Linked DNA regions of Homo sapiens: region 2 is linked to region 1. The links are contacts of gene promoters, found by promoter capture Hi-C in blood cells and fetal thymus (Javierre and others, 2016). All regions are on one chromosome and are shown on one strand. The core of a region is centred on a gene start or on the middle of the fragment in contact, and the rest is flanking DNA. Distances in the headings are between cores, read along the strand shown. Region 1 holds the start of PODXL (podocalyxin like). Region 2 has its middle 82 kb from the start of PODXL.

Region 1 (5,393 bases), core at 1,098-3,597:
GAAAAGCTTCAAAAACAGCACCCATAAAGTGCTTTGGGTTTCAAATATAAGCTCAGGTGTTCTGGGCTGGCGAGCTTGCTAGTTAGAGCACAATGCTAAATGGGGCCAAAGGCACAGGCCAGTTACCTGGGGGTAGCTCATCTCAGTGGCCACCAGTGACCTCAAAACCCAGCCAGCCTCATTCCAGAAAGCCACGTTGTGCATAAGTTGAGGGGGGCTGTTGGATACTGGGGAGAGTCCAGCACAATTGTAACTTTTCTATGTCTTCTCTAAGCCCAGATGTCTGCTCTCATTTTAATTTTGCATGATCTTGTAATGGCACCAATCCCAAATCATGTGAATTTAAAATGCCCTAAGCTTCAAAATATACGCTCTCTCTTTATAAAGTTAACATGATTGCTTCTGAGTTTTTAGATAAATTGAATGATTGAGTGCAAAAACACTGTTTAAATCAGAGTGCGATACACATTTTTTAAAATCCCAGTGTAAAAAAAAATATATATATATATTGCTTGGTTTCAGAAGAGAAACAAGCCTTTTGTTGACATGATATCAGGGGAACAGTACTAAAAAAACATCAAAGATAGTCACACACACAAATATCCCAGAGTATTCATAGGGAACACCCTCTGTCTTTCCCATATGCGGTGTGGAAAACGGGGCCAGAACGATCCTGCAGAAACTTCCTGATGAAAACAACCCCGTCAGCCCTTCCCAAGCTTGAGGCCGGCTGCCACGGAACCCCAGCCAGGGCTCCAGCGCTTCCTTCGCGGCTCCAGGGACGCAGTGCCCTGCAGGCATCGCCTGCTTGCAGCCGACTTGAGGGGCTCACGGAGTCCCCTGTGCCCGGGACGCGGCTAGATCCTGGAGAAAACCCCTCCACCCAGCCCCATCTGGCAGATAGACTCCAGATTAGCAACCCCGGAGTCACGTGAGCCAAATTTACGCCGTACCCGGGTTCCAAGGTTAATCACCCCTCGCCCCCTCCGCTTCCCGGCTCCGCCGATGTGCCTCCTCTTCAGGCGGGCCTGGGGTCTGCGTCTCCCAGGCAGCTTTGGGGGTGGAAAAAAGGAGGGGAGCGGGGGAGGGGAAAGGAACTTCTTTGTTCTTTCACCGGATAAACTCAGTTTACGGAATTCTCCAACACCCACTCCCACCCCCAGTGTGCAAATATCTCTGATCCTCACTTGGAGGGCGAACTACTTCATTCATTGAGACTTTTGTGTTCCTGGCCCTAGGCTAAGTATTATCTTGTAAGATCACATTTAAGTTTCCCAACAACCCCCTGAGGTAGGTGTTATTATCCCTATTTTACAGATAAAAAGAAATGAGGTACTGAGAATAGCTTGCCTAGGGTTTTACAATTAATAGATTGGCACAGTTAGGTTTTGAGCCCCAGCCTGTTTTGACCCAAAAGCCCTAATCTTTATAGCTGTTCTTTATATAGCAGGAATAAGAGTAATAACCACTCCTTGCAGAGCAATTACTATATTCCAGGCACGGTGCACGGTATTTCTCCAAACTTCTCTCAGAGGCAGGTTTGCCACTTACCCGTTATGTGGCCTCAGGAAGTTTCTTAACCTCTTTTTGACTCAATTGCCCTGTCTGCAAAATGAGGCTAAAAATATGGTTGTCATGAAGAGTAAAAGAATTAATATATGTAAAGCCTGGCACACATTCATCCCTGAAATTGTTGTTGCTGTTGTTTTTTAACCATCATCTCCATTTCACAGGTAAGGAACCTACCCTTGGAGAGGTGAAGGAGTGAATTAGTCCAGCTTGCCCGCTGCACACCTAGCTGCAGAGAGACCCCGCTCAGAAGCCGTGCGGGATGGGGGCCCCACAGGCAGGTGAATTGCACTTGGCAGGTGGGAGATGAGCTTCTCCGGGGTCGCTGCAGAACGCGCAGCAGCCCGGGAGGCCGTGAATGGTTATCAGTTACCACGCAAGGCTGGGGGTCCGCCCGCTCCGGATTTGCTCGTAGTGCGAGGGCCCCGGCGGTGTGCTGGGGGATCCCGCCGGGCCCACTTAGAAGCACTCGGGGGGACACACCTGTTCGGGACACCTGTGGACGGGGCCCGGCTGCACCGCAGGAGCCCCCCGCCCTGGCCCCCGCGCACACACAGCCCCCCAAGGCGCGGAGGCCGCCGGCCCTCCCGCCCGTCGCGCTCCAGGGCGGAGTTTCCTCCTCTGCTCATTGTTCACGGCCCAGCGCCCGCCCAGCCCCGGCCCCGGCCCCGCCCGGCCCGGCCGCCGCCGCTGGCGGGCTCCTGGGGGAGGGGGAGGGGCGGGGGCGGGGGCGGGGGCCGGCGCTGACGGGACGGGCCAGGAGTAGCCGCAGCCGCCAGTGGGGCCGCAGCCGCGCAGACGCCGCCCAGGACGCAGCCGCCGCCGCCGCCGCTCCTCTGCCACTGGCTCTGCGCCCCAGCCCGGCTCTGCTGCAGCGGCAGGGAGGAAGAGCCGCCGCAGCGCGACTCGGGAGCCCCGGGCCACAGCCTGGCCTCCGGAGCCACCCACAGGCCTCCCCGGGCGGCGCCCACGCTCCTACCGCCCGGACGCGCGGATCCTCCGCCGGCACCGCAGCCACCTGCTCCCGGCCCAGAGGCGACGACACGATGCGCTGCGCGCTGGCGCTCTCGGCGCTGCTGCTACTGTTGTCAACGCCGCCGCTGCTGCCGTCGTCGCCGTCGCCGTCGCCGTCGCCCTCCCAGAATGGTGAGTGGCCGGCCTGGGTTCCGCCGGGACTCCCACCGTGCCCATGTGCCCCCTGCCCGGCCGAGCTGCAGGGAAGCCCGGCGCGCCGCGTGGTCCGACCCCGAGCAGCCCTATCACCGCCGGGGTCACACACGGAGCCCTGACCTTGCACCATCCACGCCCCCTCCAAACTCCGCAGCGCGGCAGGTGCAGGGCCTGGGCGTAGATTCGTCTCCACTCTCCACTCGGGAGGAGTGGGCGGTGGATTCTGCCCGGGCAAACAGGGGCGCGCCGGTGCTAAGTGGGTTTGCATGGGAAAGAAAAGGGAGACCGCACCGCGAGGCTCCACGCTTCTGCGGGACTCTCGGGATCTGATTACACCTTTCCTTCGTGTTGGAGGGAATGAGGGGCTGTAGTGTGTATTCGTTAATTCCAGGCAAAGAGGCAGGCGAGAGGCTCCCGAGGAAGTCCCTGAAGCAGGTGACAAGCCTCCAGCCACGGCCCACGCGGGCGATGTACTTACCCGTTTGCAGAGGTTTTTTCTAAGTAATGTGTGCAGGCTCAACTCCTTGAGCCCGTGCTGGGGCAGGTACAGAGTCGTAAGTGGACCTTCCACAGTCCCAGAGTCACCTGGCTGAGTGGGGGTCCTACCTCCGTGTCCCTAAAACAATCGCTTCTTAGTGCGTGGCTACGATGGTGAGACCCCCCTCGAATCCTCTTGTTCAAACGGGAACTTGTTCAAACGGGAACTTCTCTCTCGTAGAATAGGATTGGGCTGCATTTTAGACACACCTTAGAAAATGTACCTGTCTCTCATGAAACACCTGCACCTCAGAAACATCCCCTCCCTGTTTCTTTTCAAGGTGAAATGTTACTCTTTCCCTTTTGGGGGACAGGCGATGGCTGCAAACTCAACCAGAACAGGTGTTCTTAAGCCCCTAGGGAACAGCCAGAGTCAGCTCAGCCCCACGGGAGAGGTGCATTTCTCATTCTCTTTTGCCCACCTGAGCACATGTCTGCAGGAAGAGCTGAGGTGGTGTGATCACCCTAGGGCCAGGAGGACTGCGGGGACAGCACAGACAGGGTAGGGATTCTGCTGTGAGCAGGTGCCGGCAGTTTGGGACTGGACTCTAAGGGGCCAGGGGAGATGGAAGGGCAGTACAGTCTCTCCTCTGCACCGCAGGAAACCTTTGGTAGTGGGCAGGCGCTGGCACTCAGGGAGCAGGCAGGCGTGGGCATCCTCCTGTGGCCGGCGGGAGACTCCACCAGCCTGACTAGAAAGGGAAGGTCCCGGCGGGGGGAAGAATGTGTGTCCCTGGAAGAGGGGCTGCAGTGTGAGGAACAGTCAGAACAGCTTTCAGAGTGGCAATCACTGAAGAGCCACACGACATGCAGGGTTGAGATGACACGAGAGTATGGTGGCTCCTTAGCCCTACTCTGGGGACAGCTGGACTTCAGGGTGGGCCTTCATACGAACCTTTTGTTGGGAAGCCTCTTAGAACCACCCAGAAGGGCGTTGGGCTGTGTCAGGAAAGAGGGGTTAGTCCCTAGTGCTTCTGAGCTTAAGGAAGCTGAGCCACCCTTCCTTTGAGGAGTGGGAGGCACTGTGGGACAAGACCCTCCCTGTCTGCCCTAAAAGGAAATGTTCATAAGTCACCAGTGGGCAAAGCTCTGACTCCAGCTCACTGCTGGCTTCAAGGATGGCACTGTTTTTCCTGGCACCTGGGCACTGCCAGAAACCATGTCTCTTCCATGAAGCACCACTTCTGGCCTAACACAGGGTTTGGCACATGGCAGAAGTTTGGTATGTGGCAAACAAAAATGACCATAACCCAGTGCCTGCTCTAACCAGCAAGTAACTTGGCCTATCTGAGCACTGTATGCATTATAGTATGCAGCACTGTTGGGAAGCACTTAGAAAAGTGCAAAGTGCTAAGTGGGGGATGGGGAGAGGATGATGATCATGATGGTGATGATGATTTGCATGTATTGAGGCCAGAAAAGGCTTGTGGGGGGCATGTTGCGGCAAGATTGGTCTGTTCAGTAGCTATGGTGCATTCTACACCACCCTCTAGGGACTCAGTAAGGCCAGCTCCATCCCTGTCCTTCTGAAGGTGTGGTCGCCTGGGCTGCTGTCATCGGGAATAGCATAAACACTGCCCCCCATCTGCTGGAATCCTGTGATTTGATTCAAAGCAAGAAAGATTTATAGCTCGAGTCTCTGCAACAAAGGAATTATCCCCAGACAGGTCCATCCCTGCCCCTCTCCCCCAGCTTACCTTCCAATATATGGGCAGATTATGCAGCCTACAGCAAAGAAAGCATTCACCTTAAGGGTTGGACAATTCATCAGACCCCCTTTCAGTGCTTTTTGGTTTGATAACCATCTGGCAGAACCACAATGGTAAGTCACATCTCCGTGCCTCCGTTTCGTTATTTGTGAGATAGAATAAAAGAACCAAAGGGACCTCTAGTTCCACCATGATAAGATATCTGGGGTTCCGTGTTCCCTCAGCTACTGAAAGGACAAGCTGATTCAGTACTCTCAATCTGATGTTCAATGGATGAATTCTGGGCAACAGAAAGGCAGCTTGGTGGGGTGGAAACACTCAGACTTTGGGTCAGAGAGATGTGCATGACCATGGACAAAATAGTGGACCTCCCTGAACCTCAGTTTCTTCATCTATAAAGTAATAACA
Region 2 (5,393 bases), core at 1,714-4,213, 82 kb before region 1:
CAATATTTATTTAGACCCCCTCTCTATGCAAAGCATGGTTTTAGGCACTGGGGAGAGCGGAGGCAGGTGGTGGTGGTGTGCAAGGATGCTTAACCCAGAATCCACTAGAGAGCTAAGATGTGTGGCCGGGCACGGTGGCTCATGCTTGTAATCCCAGCACTTTGGGAAGCCAAGGTGGGCAGATCACCTGAGGTCGGGAGTTTGAGACCAGCCTGACCAACATGGAGAAACCCCATGTCTACTAAAAATACAAAATTAGCTGGGTGTGGTGGTGCATGTCTGTAATCCCAGCTACTTGGGAGGCTGAGACAGGAGAATCACTTGAACCCGGGAGGCGGAGGTTGCAGTGAGCCAAGATCACGCCATTGCACTCTAGCCTGGGCAACAAGAACAAAACTCCATCTCAAAAAAAAAAAAATGTGCACACTCATACCTGTGCCACCTGACATGTGACCCATGGCACATGCTTGACCCAGAATCCACTAGAGACCTAAGATGCATACACTCATACCTGGTCCATCTGACACATAAGAAGGGCTGTGTGAACGCTGCAAAAGGCAGGGGGGTCCCATGGAGGGACATATCCCAGCACAGTGACTGCCTCTTCCCCAACAGTCCAAGGGGCCTGCTTGGGACCCAGGCCTAGGAAGGGGGTTGGAAGCTATTGTTGAACACCAGGCAGCATCAAGCATTCCAGTTCAGTTCTGTTCAAAAATGCTTCAGGCACCGTGCTAGGAGCTACTCAGACATGTGAGTTCCCACTGTCCTTCACGGTCTCAGATCCCATGACCTTCAGGAAGACCTCTCCGTCTGCCCCAGGCCACAAGAACGTTCACTCCTCCAGACTCCTACCGCACTCACTCCCCTGCAGTGTGGAAAAATTGTGCTCCACCAGTTATTTTCTTTTTTGTTTTTTGAGATAGAGTCTTGCTCTGTCACCAGGCTGGAGTGCAGTGGCACAATCTAGGTTCATTGCAACCTCTGCCTCCCGGGTTCAAGCGATTCTCCTGCCTCAGCCTCCCGAGTAGCTGGGACTACAGGTGCACACCACCATGCCCAGCTTTTTTTCTTTTTTTTTTTTTTTTGAGATGGAGTTTCGCTCTTCTCGCCCAGGCTGGAGTGCAATGGCGCGATCTCAGCTTACCACAGCCTCTACCTCCCAGGTTCAAGTGATTCTCCTGCCTCAGCCTCCCAAGTAGCTGGGACTACAGGCACCTGCCACCACGCCTGGCTAATTTTGTATTTTTAGTAGAGATGGGATTTCTCCATGTTGGTCCGGCTGGTCTCGAACTTCTGACCTCAGGTGATGCAACCACCTCGGCCTCCCAAAGTGCTGGGATTAAAGGCATGAGCCACGGCGCCTGGCCTAATGTTTGTATTTTTAGTAGGGTTTCACCATGTTGGCCAGGATGGTCTCGATCTCTTGACCTCGTGATCCGCCTGCCTCAGCCTCCCAAAGTGCCAGTATTACAGGCACGAGCCACCATGCCCAGCCTCCACCAGCAATTTTCTATCTATAGGTCCTATTCTTTGTATCAGTCAGTGCCCAGCAGAAAACAAATAGCACACTCTAACTAGGATGATTGCAGGAAAGATTTTTTTTCGAGATGGAGTCTCACTCTGTCGCCCAGGCTGGAGTGCAGTGGCATGATCTCGGCTCACTGCAACCTCCACCTCTCGGGTTCAAGCAATTCTCCTGCCTCAGCCTCCCAAGTAGCTGGGACTACAGGTGCGCACCACCACACCCGGCTAATTTTTGTATTTTTAGTAGGGTTTCACCATGTGGGCCAGGATGGTCTCGATCTCTTGACCTTGTGATCCGCCTGCCTTGGCCTCCCAAAGTGCAGGGATTACCTGGCTAATTTTTGTATTTTTTAGTGGAGACAGGGTTTCACCATGTTTCCCAGGCTGGTCTTGAGCTCCCAACCTCAACTGATCTGCCCGCTTTTGCCTCCCAGAGTGTGGGATTACAGGCCTGATGAGCCACTGTGCCTGGCCTATTGTAGGAGAGTTTTAAAAAGAAAGGGGCTGTTTACACAGGGCAGATTGAAGAGGAACCAGAAGAGACAGGGCTATACCCCAGGGCTGGAACAAGGCACCTATTCCCCCTTTGAACTGAAGGAACTAGGAAAAGGTTTACCACTAGTCCTGGAGAAGAGGGAAAATAGGACACTTGGACAGAAGGCACAGCTGTCCCTTCAGGGATCCCCAGAGAGGGAGCGGGAAAAATAAATCCCCAAAGCATCTTCCTCTATCCCACTGATCTTTTGCCAGAGCTTCCTGCTGGCCAAACGGAGGGCAACGGAGGCCCCAGTGTAGTCTGCACGAAATGCAGACAGGGGTGGGGCTAGGCCCCCAGGGGCAAACAGGTGATATCTGACACATTCTCCAAACTTCAGGAAGCTCCCAGGCGCAAGAGGTGTTTGTTCTGCACCTGGCATCAGCCTCGCTCAGAATGCACCTTGAGAGTGTTCTGGCTGAATTAGTGACCATCATGTTCCTTCTCAAGGTTGCTCCTAGCCCTCCTCAGGGACAGACTCATTCAAAGCAAAGGAGATCTGCAGACGGAGACCAAAAGCCTGGAACTCTGGAGAGAGCTGGCCTGAACTGGACTTTAGGACAGGAAGGCAGTGTCTCTGCACCTCAGTGACTTGACCTGTTAAAAATAAAACCAATTAAGAATCAGAGGATTGTTACAAGGATAAAGAGATATTTTACAAAGCATGTAGAGGTGTGTCTGTCAGATAACAACACTGGATACTCAATACATGTTAATTGTCACTGTTGTTTGCTGAACTCCCACTGTCTGCAGAGCAATAGGCCCTGGCCCCAGCTCTGATAAGATCCCCCTCAGGCAGAGCTGGCTTTCCTCGGAATCCATTTCCACCATCTTCCCTTCCTCTTCCCAGCGGCTAACATGGAATCCATTTCCACCATCTTCCCTTCCTCTTCCCACCGGCTAACATCTCGGGGTACAATGTTCTGTACCTTCTGGGCCTGAGAGGTGATGGGAGGTGCAGCTGCTTCCTGCAGGTGCCGCTGCTGATACAGACCCTGACACAGATCCTGAGGCTGACGAGGGGCCTGCCCACCCAATGCCAAGACCCAGGGTTGGCCTCACAGATACATCGGGATTTGCAGTCTTTGTCCCTAATCCACCTAGTAGACGCTCTGGGTTTGGGTTTTCCACCCAAGACTGGCCAAGACCTGACTGTGGAGTCCTGGGACCACCGTGTTCCCTTTCTAGGGGAGCCAATGTTTCTCTCTCCAACACCGAGCCCATCACCTGGCTTGTAAACATCTAGAGAGGGAGGCTGGGGAATGGGACCACTGGGATTCCAGGGATCCTCACCAACACGATTCAACATAATTCCCAAGTTGTACCAGGAACGTGGGAGCCCACAAGTCCGCCTGAAGTTTCTCTAAACATCAGGGTCTCGGGTACGAGGCGGCTCCAGCCACAGCCCCCAGCCAGGGGCTGGCAAGGCGTGCAGGGCTTTGCCCTTTATCATCATGTCAGCCCAGCCAGGAAGCTCCCCCGCCCTGCTCATCAGCACCATAAACAGGGCCCAGAGCAGGAGAGGTGGGGGTGGAGGTGGGGGGATGATGGACTGCTCTCTCCGCAGCAGTCAATTAAGAAGGAAGTTTAAGTTAAAAGGGCCATTGTGTTATTCCACTTATGAGAGGAATGTGGCCTGGGGTGGTGGTACCTGCTCTCACGGCTCTGGTGCTCTCCCTGTGATGGTGATAAGGGGGCTTTGGGGGAGTGAGGCTCTGTCTCCTGGAAGTGCTCACCCTGAGCTGCCTGCAGGGCCCACAGCAGGGTATCCCAGTCAGCAGGTTCATCCAGGACCCCAAACCCCACAGCAGGTCCCCCAGGCCTCTCTGGCACATCCTCTTTTGTCCGCTCTGTGTCCTATTCTCCACCCTCTGAGATGACCAAGTCCATCTGCTCCCAGACCTACGCAGATGTGGCCATGTGAGCCAGGTAGTTTGAATAGGGGGCTACACTCCATCAGCATCAGGGCCCACGCCAGTGTAAACGCCCAGGACTGGGAAGACACTTGAGGGCACTAGAGAAATAATACTCTCACCAGCTGGCTGATACTCACAATTTCACCCTTAGACATTCATGTCTTCGACTTAAAACTCCCTATCTTCAGGAGTCCTCATGTACTCCTACCACCCCCTTCCCTTTAGGCGCTCACATGTTCATTCCAATGGCAACTTTCCAGAGACAGTGGCCTTGCTCTGGTTGTCCACCTTGGAGGACACAAGTCCTGGTACCAAGAGGGCCATGGCCTGCCAGTGAGGAGATGCTGCTGAGGACTGGCCCCTCTGAGACCAAATGGCTCAGTAGAAAGGGCAGTAGCCCAAGAGTCAGGAGTCCTAAGCTGTGTGAGCTTCAGCAGGTCATTTACTCTCTCCAGGTGGCAGTTTTCCCAACTCTAAAATGAGGGGATGGGAGCAGATGTCCTCTAGCTTCCTCCCTGCTCTAGAATGCTCGGCTGGGCATGGGCCTGACCCTCAAAGACAAAGAAAAGCCCCAGCCCAGGCATGCCCTGTGGTGGCTGAAGGCAGCTCAAGTTTAAAGTTTTCAGCAGATGCTTCCAGGCATCCCTTCTGCCTCTTTTCTCCCATCCTCAGGCTCCTCCATGGGCCCCAACTCTTGGGTCTCCATGTATCCTTCTGGACCATGCTGATGTTGCCACACACTCACACCAAGCAGGTCTTCCAGCCTTCTGAGTTTGCATAAAAGCAAGGTCCTGGACCAGGCACAGTGGCTCACACCTGTAATCCCAGCACTTTGGGAGGCCAAGGCAGGTGGAATGCTTGAGTCCAGAAGTTCCAGACCAGCCTGGGCAACATGGTGAAACCCTGTCTCTACAAAAAATACAAAAATTAGCTGGGCATGGTGGCACATGCGTGTAGTCCCAGCTACTCAGGAGGCTGAGGCAGGAGGATTGCTTGTGGCCAGAAGGTTGAGGCTGCAGTGAGCCAAGATTGCACCACTGCACTCCAGCCTGGGTGACAGAGTGAGAACCTGTCTCAAAAAATAAAAAATAAAAAGAAAGGTCCTTTGGCACGAGAGTCTGTCCTTTGACCTTAGGTTGAACACGACTTTTCCAGGATCTACCTGTAACTCCAATTCTGTAGCATCGTGGAATGGCGCCTGAGCAAGGCCCAGAGTGGAGATTCCATGCCTATCTGTGGCTCCTTTCCTCAGCTCTGCTCTTGCCTCTCTCCTGCACCCACCCTGGGCCTGCTCCCAGGCCTTCCTCGCAGCCCTTCCTCTTGCTTCTGTGTGCAGCTTGGCCCTCCTATCTCCGGACCACCTCCTGTGCTGGCGCGGGGAGCGCATTTCCCACGTACTCCTTGGCGATCGTCATCTT

Evidence for each region. The method cuts DNA at HindIII sites, captures the fragments that hold promoters and counts their contacts. A CHiCAGO score of 5 or more calls a contact.
Region 2: a contact is called between a fragment that was not itself captured here and the fragment with the promoter of PODXL in region 1, in 1 of 17 cell types (endothelial precursors). The highest score is 5.1, in endothelial precursors.

The regions. Positions count from the first base shown.
Region 1 is chr7:131,553,582-131,558,974 of GRCh38, reverse strand. It overlaps PODXL (podocalyxin like), which reads left to right and starts at 2,347. Exons shown (of 9, transcript NM_001018111.3): 1 at 2,347-2,715. The coding sequence starts at 2,616. RefSeq lists an enhancer at 1,412-1,959 and silencers at 1,927-2,046, 2,077-2,136, 2,217-2,726. The HindIII fragment of the contact is 4,965 bases long and covers 722-5,393 here.
Region 2 is chr7:131,636,269-131,641,661 of GRCh38, reverse strand. No RefSeq gene overlaps it. Among named protein-coding and RNA genes, the nearest start is that of PODXL, 82 kb to the right of the region's middle. RefSeq lists an enhancer at 2,773-3,369. The HindIII fragment of the contact is 7,477 bases long and covers 1-5,393 here.